2 separate regions of the Homo sapiens genome follow, and region 2 is linked to region 1. Evidence: promoter capture Hi-C in human tissues and cell types (Jung and others, 2019). All regions are on one chromosome and are shown on one strand. The core of a region is centred on a gene start or on the middle of the fragment in contact, and the rest is flanking DNA. Distances in the headings are between cores, read along the strand shown. Region 1 holds the start of DBT (dihydrolipoamide branched chain transacylase E2). Region 2 has its middle 34 kb from the start of FRRS1.

What was found. The method cuts DNA at HindIII sites, captures the fragments that hold promoters and counts their contacts. A contact is called where the count stands out against the background at its distance.
Region 2: a contact is called between a fragment that was not itself captured here and the fragment with the promoter of DBT in region 1, in 2 of the 25 tissues and cell types used here (spleen and stomach).

What each region holds. Positions count from the first base shown.
Region 1 is chr1:100,247,387-100,253,101 of GRCh38, forward strand. It overlaps DBT (dihydrolipoamide branched chain transacylase E2), which reads right to left and starts at 2,448. Exons shown (of 11, transcript NM_001918.5): 1 at 2,384-2,448. The coding sequence starts at 2,434. RefSeq lists enhancers at 1,617-2,176, 2,177-2,736, 2,338-2,457 and a silencer at 2,568-2,667. The HindIII fragment of the contact is 17,632 bases long and covers 1-5,715 here.
Region 2 is chr1:99,797,943-99,803,657 of GRCh38, forward strand. No RefSeq gene overlaps it. Among named protein-coding and RNA genes, the nearest start is that of FRRS1, 34 kb to the left of the region's middle. The HindIII fragment of the contact is 3,911 bases long and covers 115-4,025 here.

The DNA.
Region 1 (5,715 bases), core at 1,198-3,697:
AGAATTACAGGCTCAAATCAAGAGAAACTGGGCCAGGGGCAGTGGCTTACGCCTGTAATCCCAGCACTTTGGGAGGCCAAGGCAGGAGGATCACCTGAGGTCAGGAATTCAAGACCAGCCTGGCCAACATGGCAAAACCCCGTCTCTACTAAAAATACAAAAATTAGCCAGGCATGGTGGTTCGCGCCTGTAGTGCCAGCTACTTGGGAGGCTGAGGCAGGAAAATCACTTGAACCCAGGAGGTGGAGGTTGCAGTAAGCCGAGATTGCACCACTGCACTCCAGCCTGGGCAACAGATCAAGACTCTTCTCAAAAAAAAAAAAAAAAAAAATTAAGAGAAACTGGTTTGAGGGTTCAGTTCTAGAGGCTGGAGAGTCTGACCTGCTTTGAAGCTTTACGGCAGACACTGTGAGAAGACTAAAGACAAGCTTTTCTGCTGGGCATGGTGGCTCATCCTGTAATCCCAGCACTTTGGGAGGCCAAGGCAGGCGGATCACTTGAGGTCAGGAGTTTGAGACCAGCCTGGCCATCATGGTGAAACCTCGTCTCTACTAAAAATACAAAAATTAGCTGGGCATGGTGGCGTGTGCCTGTAGTCCCAGATATTTGGGAGGCTGAGGCAAAAGAATCGCTTGAAACTGGGAGGCAGGGGTTGCAGTGAGCCAAGATCGCACCACTGTACTCCAGCCTGGGTGACAGAGAGAGACTCCATTTCAAAAAAAAAAAAAAAAAAGACAAGTTTTTCTAAGCTCCCTTGTGCTAGCCGGGGCCATGTAACACAGTTCTGGCCAGTGAGACTGGAACCTCCTCCTCTTCCACCTTCCTGCCTTCAACATAAAAGAAGAAGTCGTAGCAGCCCTCTTGTATACAGTAGGAAAAGGACAAATGAACTACTAGGGAAATGACGACATTGATAATCATAAGCCACTTAATGTGAGCTGACATCTAATTGGGGATGCTCTGTATGCATGGATACTTAATTTCCTATTTATTGGTTGGGTTTTTAATTGCAGCTGGAAAACATCACGTACATATGAAACTGGAGATTTCCAGGACAGTAGGATATATGGGTTTGGAGTAGACCTGGTTGGAAGACTGGGGAACTTTAGGACTCATCAGCATAGATGGTAACTAAAGCCAAAGAGTGGATGGGATAACCCAGAAAGTGGGAAAAGTGCAGAGGGCCAAAGTCAGAGCCCTTTAGAAAAAGCAATATTTAAAAGGCGGGAAGGGAAACAGGATATTGGGATGAAGTGGCCAAAGATGAAGAAAGAATAATATTGGGAAACTGGTGTCACAGAAAACAAGAATGGAAAGCTCTAGAAAGAAGAGAGACCAATATGTGTTAAGTGTTGCTGAGAAGAGCTCTCTTCTCCTGGTTATCTCTTACTTATCCTTCTTACATCTCAAGTCATACAGTATCCTCTGGGAACTCCTCTGACCCCCAAGTCCACCATAGGTGTCCACTCCTGTGTGTTCCTGTAGTTCTAGGCACTTGTCCCATCACAGTACCTCTCATGCTGGGTTGTAATTTCTATCTGTCTCCCTCTCCTTTGTCCTCCACCACAAGGTTGTAATCTCTTGAGAAGGAAGATATGATGTCTATTTCATATTTGTATCTCCAGTGCCTAACACAGCACTGGTACATAGCAGGCTCTTGAAAGTTTTTGTAAGATCGGGGTCACCAAGGCAGGAGCATCTAGGGAAAGGGAGAAGAGGCAGGAAGAAGAAACACTAAGCAAATAGGGGTAACAAGTATCATTACCGGTATGTGTCAGTGCTTGGTGCTAAGACTGGGAGAAAGAGAAGGAAGTGCAGGGGAGATGGTGATGGGTCACAGCCTTGGTGACAAAAGGGTAGGAATGATATGTGGTGCGGACATAGAAGTACAAGGCAAAAGAGTGACGCCGAGCTGCTCAGTTCTTCGGAAGCAGGGACCCCTGCTGATATTCTATAACTTGAACGGCCTCTTCCTCTACACACTGTAGATTCCTTGAGGGTAGGGGTCGTGTTACCAGTGTTTGGCATACTGTGGGTACGCAATAAATGCTAAACGAATATATCTCTGGATCCACAGCGCCTATCACAATGCCTGGGCACCTGGAAGGCGCTCAATAAAACGCTAGCTGGGCCTCGGGGTACAGATGGAGCAGGACGGCTGAGTCGCTGCAGAAGCGCTTCCAGGTAAGGGGAGGGAGTGGGTTTCCACTCCAGACTGGTCGACTCGCTCCGTTCTCTGCCCTTTATTTTGCATGCATCCCTTCACCTCTCCATCACGCGTGCCCTGGACGCCTGGCACCGGAGGAGAAAGTAAAACACCACTCCTGGATGACTCCGGACAAATCACTCCTTCCCGGCCTCAGATCTGCCCAAACGTGCTTACCAGCTTCCCCGCATTCCTGCTCCAGGTTCTCAGCATACGGACTGCAGCCATCTTACCCCGGAAATGACAACAGTGCCGCAAACTGGAGAGACTCTCCTCGGCGCGGCCTATCAGGAGATGGGAAACGCGCCTCCCCCTGGGCGACCAATAGGGAGGGAAGAAACGAGCCTCCCACCCAACAGCCAACCAAGGAGTAGGGCGGAGCCTGAGCTAAACCCTAGGATCTGGGACCCAGCGGGGAGTGAAAAGAGCCTGGGGGACGGAGGCGGGGCAGAGGGCAGCCCAAATTTAACACTGCTGTGTAAATACAGATGCACCAAAGATAATCTTTTTAGTGTATGTGATGGGGAAAATAGAGAGTGTTAAGGAAACACAAAGAAAGGTACTTACCTCAAGAAAGTTATGTTGCAGTAGGACCTGAGCGATGAGTTGGAAAACATTTCCCCGTCTTCATCTTGTAGTGTAGCCGCCCCAAATACAGAAAATAGAATATTTCTATACGTTGTAGCAAGGCTCTGGACAACTAGTTGTTTCACAAGTCCATACAGCAGTACTTCCCAATGACTGCCTTTTTTACTCCCATTTATGTTTTTGATTACCAAAATTGGCTAATCAATTTTTTTCATGAAAGATGAACATTACCTAATGTCTAAAATAAACATGTTATCATCTTTCTTTTTACAGACTGCTATCAGATGCAGCTAACTAGCATATGCAATACATGTCACAGACACATGATCTTGATTTAGTTGTCTCTTAAAGAAATGTCAAATTCAGGTCAAGTGGAACTGGTAAAGAACAGATCAGAGCTTTCTTTTAAAAGGCAATCTTCCTCAGAGCAACTAGGAAACCAATTCCTGGAAATGTCCAGGATGACATTAGTCTGTTATTGCTTCTTACGTGGGAATGAAAATCTGCACAGATGTCTAAGGAATTACAGAGAAAAAAAACTGGAACAAATACATTTTAAATGCTCAACATTGAAGATTAGTGGTTATGAAACAAAATCTCAGGTATTTCACAACTTCATTGTTTAATATGACCCAAACACTTTTCCCCCTCATTTGCCATTTTATGTATTACACATCTACACACAAAAAATCAATGCAAACAATAAATCTTATTATCTTTTTTGTTTGTTTGTTTGTTTGGTAGAGATAGGGTCTCTTGGGCCAGGCGTGGTGGCTCCTGCCCATAATTCCAGCACTTTGGGAGGCTGAGGCAGGCAAATGGCTTGAGCTCAGAAGTTCAAGATGGGATCTCTCTATGTTGCCCAGGCTGGTCTCAAAGTCCTGGTCTCAAACTGCGATCTTCCCATTTCAGCCTCCCAAAGTCCTAGGATTACAGGCATGAGCCACTGGGTCCGGCCTAAATAGCTATCTTTCTCAGAAAATCTAGAGTAGTCAAAAGAATTTCAAGTTTTTACATTTCCTTAAAAATGTTTATAGACATTATTAATATATTTGATAATCCCACAAGCATGTGTTTGTATAAAAAGCAGTGGCAGTTGTACCTTTGAAGTGAATCATCTCCCTTCCAAGCTGCTGCTATACAACTTTCTTTGTCCTAATTTCGTTTTTAACTGTACCTGCTCCTCAGAAGATAACTAGTTTATTTTCCTTTACCGTCTTCTTATGTCAATGGATTCTTGCTTCTATATTCAGTATAATATGTGTCCTTATCTTTCATTCCAGCATCTGGAAAGAAATACACCATCTATTCCCTAGTTAATTCTTTTATTCGAGTTTGAAAGAAACAAAGACCCCATTTCTTCTCTTTTTTTAGATTTAAAAATGGCCAGTTATGACCCACCAATTCCACTCCTGGATAGCTACATAAGAGAAATGACAACAGTGTTCACACAAAGACTTGAATAGGAATAATCATAACAGCATAACAGCCAAAATCTAGAAACAGCCCAGATGTCCATTAACAGGTGAATAAACAAAATGTGGTACATCCATATTCTGAAATATTATTCATCCTTAAAAATGACTGAATTAGCGATAATTGCTATGACATGGATGAATGTCAAAAAAATATTATGCTAAGTAAAAGAATACAAGCACAAAAGATCACATATTACATTATTCCATTTAAATTAAATGTCCAGAAAATGTTGATTTATAGAGATGAAAAACAGATTAGTTTTAGTTATATTAGTTATATAATAAGATTATATTAGTATTATTAATTAATAAGGTTAGCATTAGAAAACAAATTCGCCTGGGGCTAGAGGTGGAAGGGGCAGTGATTGCAGAGGCAAGAGAGATTTTTTTTGTGGTGATGAAAATTTTCTGTTGCCACTTTGTGGCAATGATTGCATAATTCTGTACATTTACTAAAAATCTTTGAATTATACACTTAAGACAGGTGAATTTTATGGTATGTAAAGTACACCATAATAAAGCTGTTAAAACTGTGTTATATGAGACAATAATGAACATATGAATAAAAACAAATACATAAGTCTGGACGTGGTGGCTCATGCCTGTAATCCCAGCACATTGGGAGGCGAAGGCGGGTAGATCACGAGGTCAGCAGTTCGAGACCAGCCTGGCCAACATAGTGAAACCCCATCTCTACTAAAAATACAAAAATTAGCCAGGCATGGTGGCATGCGCCTGTAGTCCCAGATACTCGGGAGGCTGAGGCAGGAGAATTGCTTAAATCTGGGAGGCGAAGGTTGTGGTGAGCCAAGATTGTGCCATTGCACTCCAGCCTGGGCAATAGAGCAAGATTCCATCTCAAAACAATACAAAACAAATACATATGTCACATGATAATATAACAAAAACCCTTGAACCTATCACTCAACTTTAAGAAATAGAACCTATGGAAAAACACATTATGTAGGTTGTCTAAAAATAAAATACATTTTAAACTAAAAAAAAAAGAAATAGAATCTTTCCCGTTAGTGAAGATCACTGTCTGCTCCTTCCTTTACCTCTCCCCTTCATAAGCGTTATCTTGAATTGTGTTTTTCATTCCTTTGTTTATTTTAGAATTGACCACATATACATATATGGATGGATGCCTAGTAACATATTATTTACTTTTGCTTGTTTTTGAGTCTCATAAAAATGGTATTAAACTGTATGTATCTTTCTGCAACTAGTTTTTCTGACATGATTTATTTATCCATTCTCTACTGAGTGGATATTTGTGCTATTTCTAGTTATTTGCTATTACCGTCAGTGCTGTTATGAACATTCTTGATCATTTCTCCTGGTGCATGTTCTAGGGTTTCTTTAGCACAGCGCTTCTCAGACATTAATGAGCATTCATAGCAACCGGGGATCTTGTTAACAAGCAGATTCTAATTCAGTAAA
Region 2 (5,715 bases), core at 820-3,319, 450 kb before region 1:
GTGGTCTGAGAGACAGTTTGTTGTGATTTCTCTTCTTTTGCATTTGCTGAGGAGTGTTTTACTTCCAATTATGTGGTCAATTTTAGAATAAGTGTGATGTGGTGCTGAGAAGAATGTATATTCTGTTGATTTGGGGTGGAGAGTTCTGTAGATGTCTATTAGGTCCACTCGGTCTAGAGCTGAGTTCAAGTTCTGAATATCCTTGTTAATTTTCTGTCTCATTGATCTGTCTAATATTGATAGTGGGGTGTTAAAGTCTCCCATTATTATTGTGTGGGAGTCTAAGTCTCTTTGTAGGTCTCTAAGAACTTGCTTTGTGAATCTGGGTGCTCCCGTATTGGGTGCATATATATTTAGGATAGTTAGCTCTTCTTGTTCAATAGATCCCTTTACCATTATGTAATGGCCTCCTTTGTCTCTTTTCATCTTTGTTGGTTTAAAGTCTGTTTTATCAGAGACCAGGATTGCAACCCCTGCTTTTTTTTGCTTTCCATTTACTTGGTAGATCTTCCTCCATCCCTTTATTTTGAGCCTGTGTGTCTTTTCACATGAGATGGGTCTCCTGAATACAGCACACCAATGGGTCTTGACTCTTTATCCAATTTGCTAGTCTGTGTCTTCTAATTGGGGCATTTAGCCCATTTACATTTAAGGTTAATATTGTTATGTGTGAATTTGATCCTGTCATTATGATGCTAGCTGGTTATTTTGCCCACTAATTGATGCAGTTTCTTCATACCATCGATGGCCTTTACAATTTGGCATGTTTTTGCAGTGGCTGGTACCAGTTACTCCTTTCCATGGTTTTTGTTGTTTTTTTTTTTTTTTTTTTTTGAGATGGAGTCTTGCTCTGTCACCCAGGCTGGAGTGCAGTGGCGTGATCTCAGCTCACTGCAAGCTCCACCTCCTGGGTTCATGCCATTCTCCTGCCTCAGCCACCACCATGCCTGGCTAATTTTTTATAATTTTTAGTAGAGATGAGGTTTCACCATGTTAGCCAGGATGGTCTCGATCTGACCTCGTGATCTGCCCACCTCAGCCTCCCAAAGTGCTGGGATTACAGGTGTGAGCCACCACGCCTGGCCCCTTCCCATGTTTTGTGCTTCCTTCAGGAGCTCTTGTAAGGCAGGCCTGGTGGTGACAAAATCTCTCAGTATTTGCTTGTCTGTAAAGGAGTTTATTTCTCCTTCACTTATGAAGCTTTGTTTGGCTGAATATGAAATTCTGGGTTGAAAATTCTTTTCTTTAAGAATGTTGAATATTGGTCCCCACTCTCTTCTGGCTTGTAGGGTTTCTGCAGAGAGACCCGCTGTTAGTCTGGTGGGCTTCCCTTTGTGGGTAACCCAACCTTTCTCTCTGGCTGCCCTTAACATTTTTTCCTTCATTTCAACCTTGGTGAATCTGACAATTATGTGTCTTGGGGTTGCTCTTCTCAAGGAGAATCTTTGTGGTGTTCTCTGTATTTCCTGAATTTGAATGTTGGCCTGCCTTGCTAGGTTGGGGAAGTTCTCCCAGATAATATCCTGAAAAGTGTTTTCTAACTTGGTTCCATTCCCCCCGTCACTTTCAGGAACACCAAGCAAACACAGATTTGGTCTTTTCACATAGTCCCATATTTCTTGGAGGCTTTGTTCATTTCTTTTCACTCTTTTTTTCTCTAATCTTGTCTTCTTGCTTTATTTCATTAATTTGATCTTCAATCACTGATATCCTTTCTTCCACTTGTTCGACTCGGCTATTGAAGCTTGTGTATGCTTCACGAAGTTCTCATACTGTGATTTTCAGTTCTATCAGGTCATTTAAGGTCTTCTCTACACTAGTTATTCCAGTTAGCCATTCGTCTAACCTTTTTTCAAGGTTTTTAGCTTCCTTGCAATGAGTTAGAACATGATCCTTTAGCTCAGAGAAGTTTGTTATAACCGACCTTCTGAAGCCTACTTCTGCCAACTCGTCAAACCCATTCTCCAACCAGTTTTGTTCTCTTGTTGGTGAGAAGTTGTGTTCCTTTGGAGGAGAAGAGGTGTTCTAGTTTTTGGAATTTTCAGCCTTTCTGCTCTGGTTTCTCCCCTCTTTGTGGTTTTATCTACCTTTGGTCTTTGATGTTGGTGACCTATGGATGAGGTTTTGGTGTAGATGTCCTTTTTGTTGATGTTGATGCTATTCTTTTCTGTTTGTTGGTTTTTCTTCTAACAGAGAAGCCTCTCAGTTGCAGGTCTGTTGGAGTTTGCTGGAGGTCCACTCCAGACCTTGTTTGCCTGGGTATCACCAGCAGAGGCTGCAGAATAGCAAATATTGCTGCCTGATCCTTCCTCTGGAAGCTTCATCCCAGAGGGGCACCCACCTGTATGAGGTGTCTGTCAGCCCCTACTGGGAGGTGTCTCCCAGTCAGGCTACACAGGGGTCAGGGACCCACTTGAGGAGGCAGTCTGTCTGTTATTGCAGCTCGAATGCCGTGCTGGGAGAACAACTGCTCTCTTCAGAATGGTCAGGCAGGGATGTTTAAGTATGGAGAAGCTGTCTGCTGCCTTTTGTTCAGATATGCCCTGCCCTCATAGGTGGAATCTAGAGAGGCAGTAGGCCTTGCTGAGCTCCAGTGGGCTCCACCCAGTTCGAGCTTCCCTGCCACTTTGTTTACACTGTGAACATAGAACCACCTACTCAAGCCTCAGCAATGGTGGACACCCCTCCCCCCACCAAGCTCCGGCATCCCAGGTTGATCTCAGACTGCTGCGCTAGCAGCAAGCAAGGCTCTGTGAGCATAGGACCTGCTGAGCCAGGCACAGGAGGGGATCTCCTGGTCTGCAGGTTGTGAAGACCATGGGAAAAGTGCAGTATTTGGGCAGAAGTGTACCACTCCTCCAGGTACAGTCACTCACGGCTTCCCTTGGCTAGGAATGGGAAATCCCCCAACCCCTTGCATTTCCCCGGTGAGGCAATGCCCCACCCTGCTTCAGCTTGCCTTCCATGGGCTGCACCCACTGTCCAACCAGTCCCAATGAGATGAATCAGGTACCACAGTTGGAAATGCAGAAATCACCCATCTGCTTTGTCAATCTTGCTGGGAGCTATAGACCAGAGCTGTTCCTATTTGGCCATCTTGGAAGTGACCAGTGCCCCTAAAGTCTTAACGCATTCCAGTTTCAACTCTAAAGTCTAACATTTAAAGTCTAATATTTTTTCTTAACTTAATAAGGTTTTCTTTAACTTTTGTTTTAAGTTCAGAGGTACATGTGCAGGTTTGTTATTAAAGTCTCTCTAAAAATCATCTAAACTGGATATTGCCGAGACTTGAGATGTAATTCATTATGAGGCAAAATTTTTCTCCAGCTGTGAACCTTTGAAACCAAATATGTTATCTGATTCCAAAATACAATAGTGGGACAGACATAGAATAAACATTCCCATTCCAAAAGAAGAAGCAGGAAAGAAGGAAAGGTAGTTGGTTTCAAGCCAGTTCAAAACCCAACAAGGTATTCCATGAGATCTTAAGCCCGGAGAATAATCCTCTTCAACACTCTGCCTTCTAGGCCTGGTGGTGTTGGGGTGAGGGGGTCATCCCCCTAAGGCTGTACATGGTGGTCTTGGCCCCACAGCTCTGCAGAGAGGTCCTGGCTCCCAAGCTTTGGTCAGAGGCCACCTGGCCTTTTAAAACTGAATGGTGACCGTGATAATCTCTGAATTGCCTTCAGGGCAATTTTTCTCTGTCTTTGAACAGTGCACGTTTATACCCAGATAGCTCTATCGTCTTGTCTTTCAAAATCTAAGAAGTCAAATATCCTTTCTTCATTTTGTCCAACCTCCATCCCTCAGTTCAAGCTGACAGTGCTTCTGCTCCTATAATATCATAAACTCTTTATTGAGTGAAAGTCCAGCCACACCCTTGGTGTTCCTTTCAGAATATGTTTTTGCATTTTTTGCAATATCAATAGGCTGAATTTTCCAAATATTTAAGATCTAGTTCCTTGTTGCTTAACAATCCTTTCTTCAGTTCATCTCTGTCCTCTCACATATTACTATAAACAGTCAGGAGGAACTAAGATACTCCTTCAACACTTTGCTTAGAAATATTCTCAGGGAAATTTCCAGTTTCATTGCTTACCAGTTCTACTTTCCAAAAAAACACTAGAACACAAACACAATTCAGTCAGGTTATTTCCCTCTTTATAACAAGGATTGCCTCTCCTTCAGGTTCCTACATGATCTTTGTTACCATCTGAGACTTCACAAGAATCACCCTTAATATCTATATTTATAGTATGCACCTTAAAACTCTTCCAGCCTCTACCCATTACCCATTTCCAAAGCAACTTCCACATGTTTAAGCATTTGTTACAGCAGCACCTCACTTCTCAGTATCAAAATCTGTATTAGTCTGGGTTATCCATAGAAACAGAACTGCTAAGAGATATAAATAGATAGATATAAAGAAGCTTATAAGAAATTGGGCCAGGTGAAGTGGCTCACACCTGTAATCCCAGCACTTTGAGAGGTCGAGGTGGGCGGATCACTTGAGGTCAGGAGTTCAAGACCAGCCTGGTCAACATGGTGAAACCCCATCTCTACTAAAAATACAAAAGTTAGCTGTGGCATTCATCTCTGGTCCCAGCTACTCAGGAGGCTGAGGCAGGAGAATCACTTGAACCTGGGAGGCAGAGGTTGCAGTGAGCCAAGATCATGCCACTGCACTCCAGCCTAGGCAACAGAGTAAGACTCAAAAAAAAAAAAAGAAATTGGGTCATGTGATTATGAAGACAGATATCCCAAGATCTATAGTCAGCACAAAGGACAGCCAATGGTATGAGTACCAGTCTGAGTATCAGTCCAAAGTCTGACATCCTAGCTTGACAATCATTAGGCAGGGAGAGAATCCTGCCTTACTCACCCCTGTGTTCCTTTCAGGCCTTCAGTGGATTTCCATGAGACCCACCCACATTGGGCAGGATAATCTGCTTTACTCAGTCTACCAATTCCAATGTTAATCTTGGCCAGGTGCGGTGGCTCCTGCCTGTAATCCCAGCACTTCGGGATCGAGGTGTGTAGAGGCCAGGAGTTCAAGACCAGCCTGGGCAACATGGCAAAACCTTGTCTCTACTAAAAAAATACAAAAAAATTAGCTGGGCGTCATGGCACATGCCTGGAGTCCCAGCAGCTAGGGAGGATGAGGTGGGAGGATCACCTGAGCCCTGGAAGGCGAGGCTGTAGTGAGCTGAGATCATGTGCCACTGCAGTCTAGTCTGAGCAATGAGAGTGAGACCCTTTTGCCAAAACAACAACAACAACAACAACAACAACAACCACTGTGGCTCCTATGGTCCATTCAAGTTGACACATAAAATTAACCATCACATCCCCTGATTCCAATTCTTCTTTTCCTATACTCAGTTAAATCCACCCAAATATATGTCTATCCTCACTACTTCATGGAAACTACTTTAGTTGAAGGATTCTTGAACTTTGATCTAGAACTTTGATCTAACAATGCCCTCTGCTTCGTTAAATTAAAATTGCTTATCTTACTTGACAAATTAGGAGGATTTGACATCATCAATTGTCTCCTCCTCCTTGACATATTTCGTTTGACTCTCAGGACACCACACTTTCAGTGTGAACCTGAAACCACGCTGGTTCATCTTTCTTGTCCTTTGCTGGCTCTTCAATTTTTCCATGACCTCTTAATATTAGGATAGATTTAGTTCTTGAATATCTCCTCTTCTT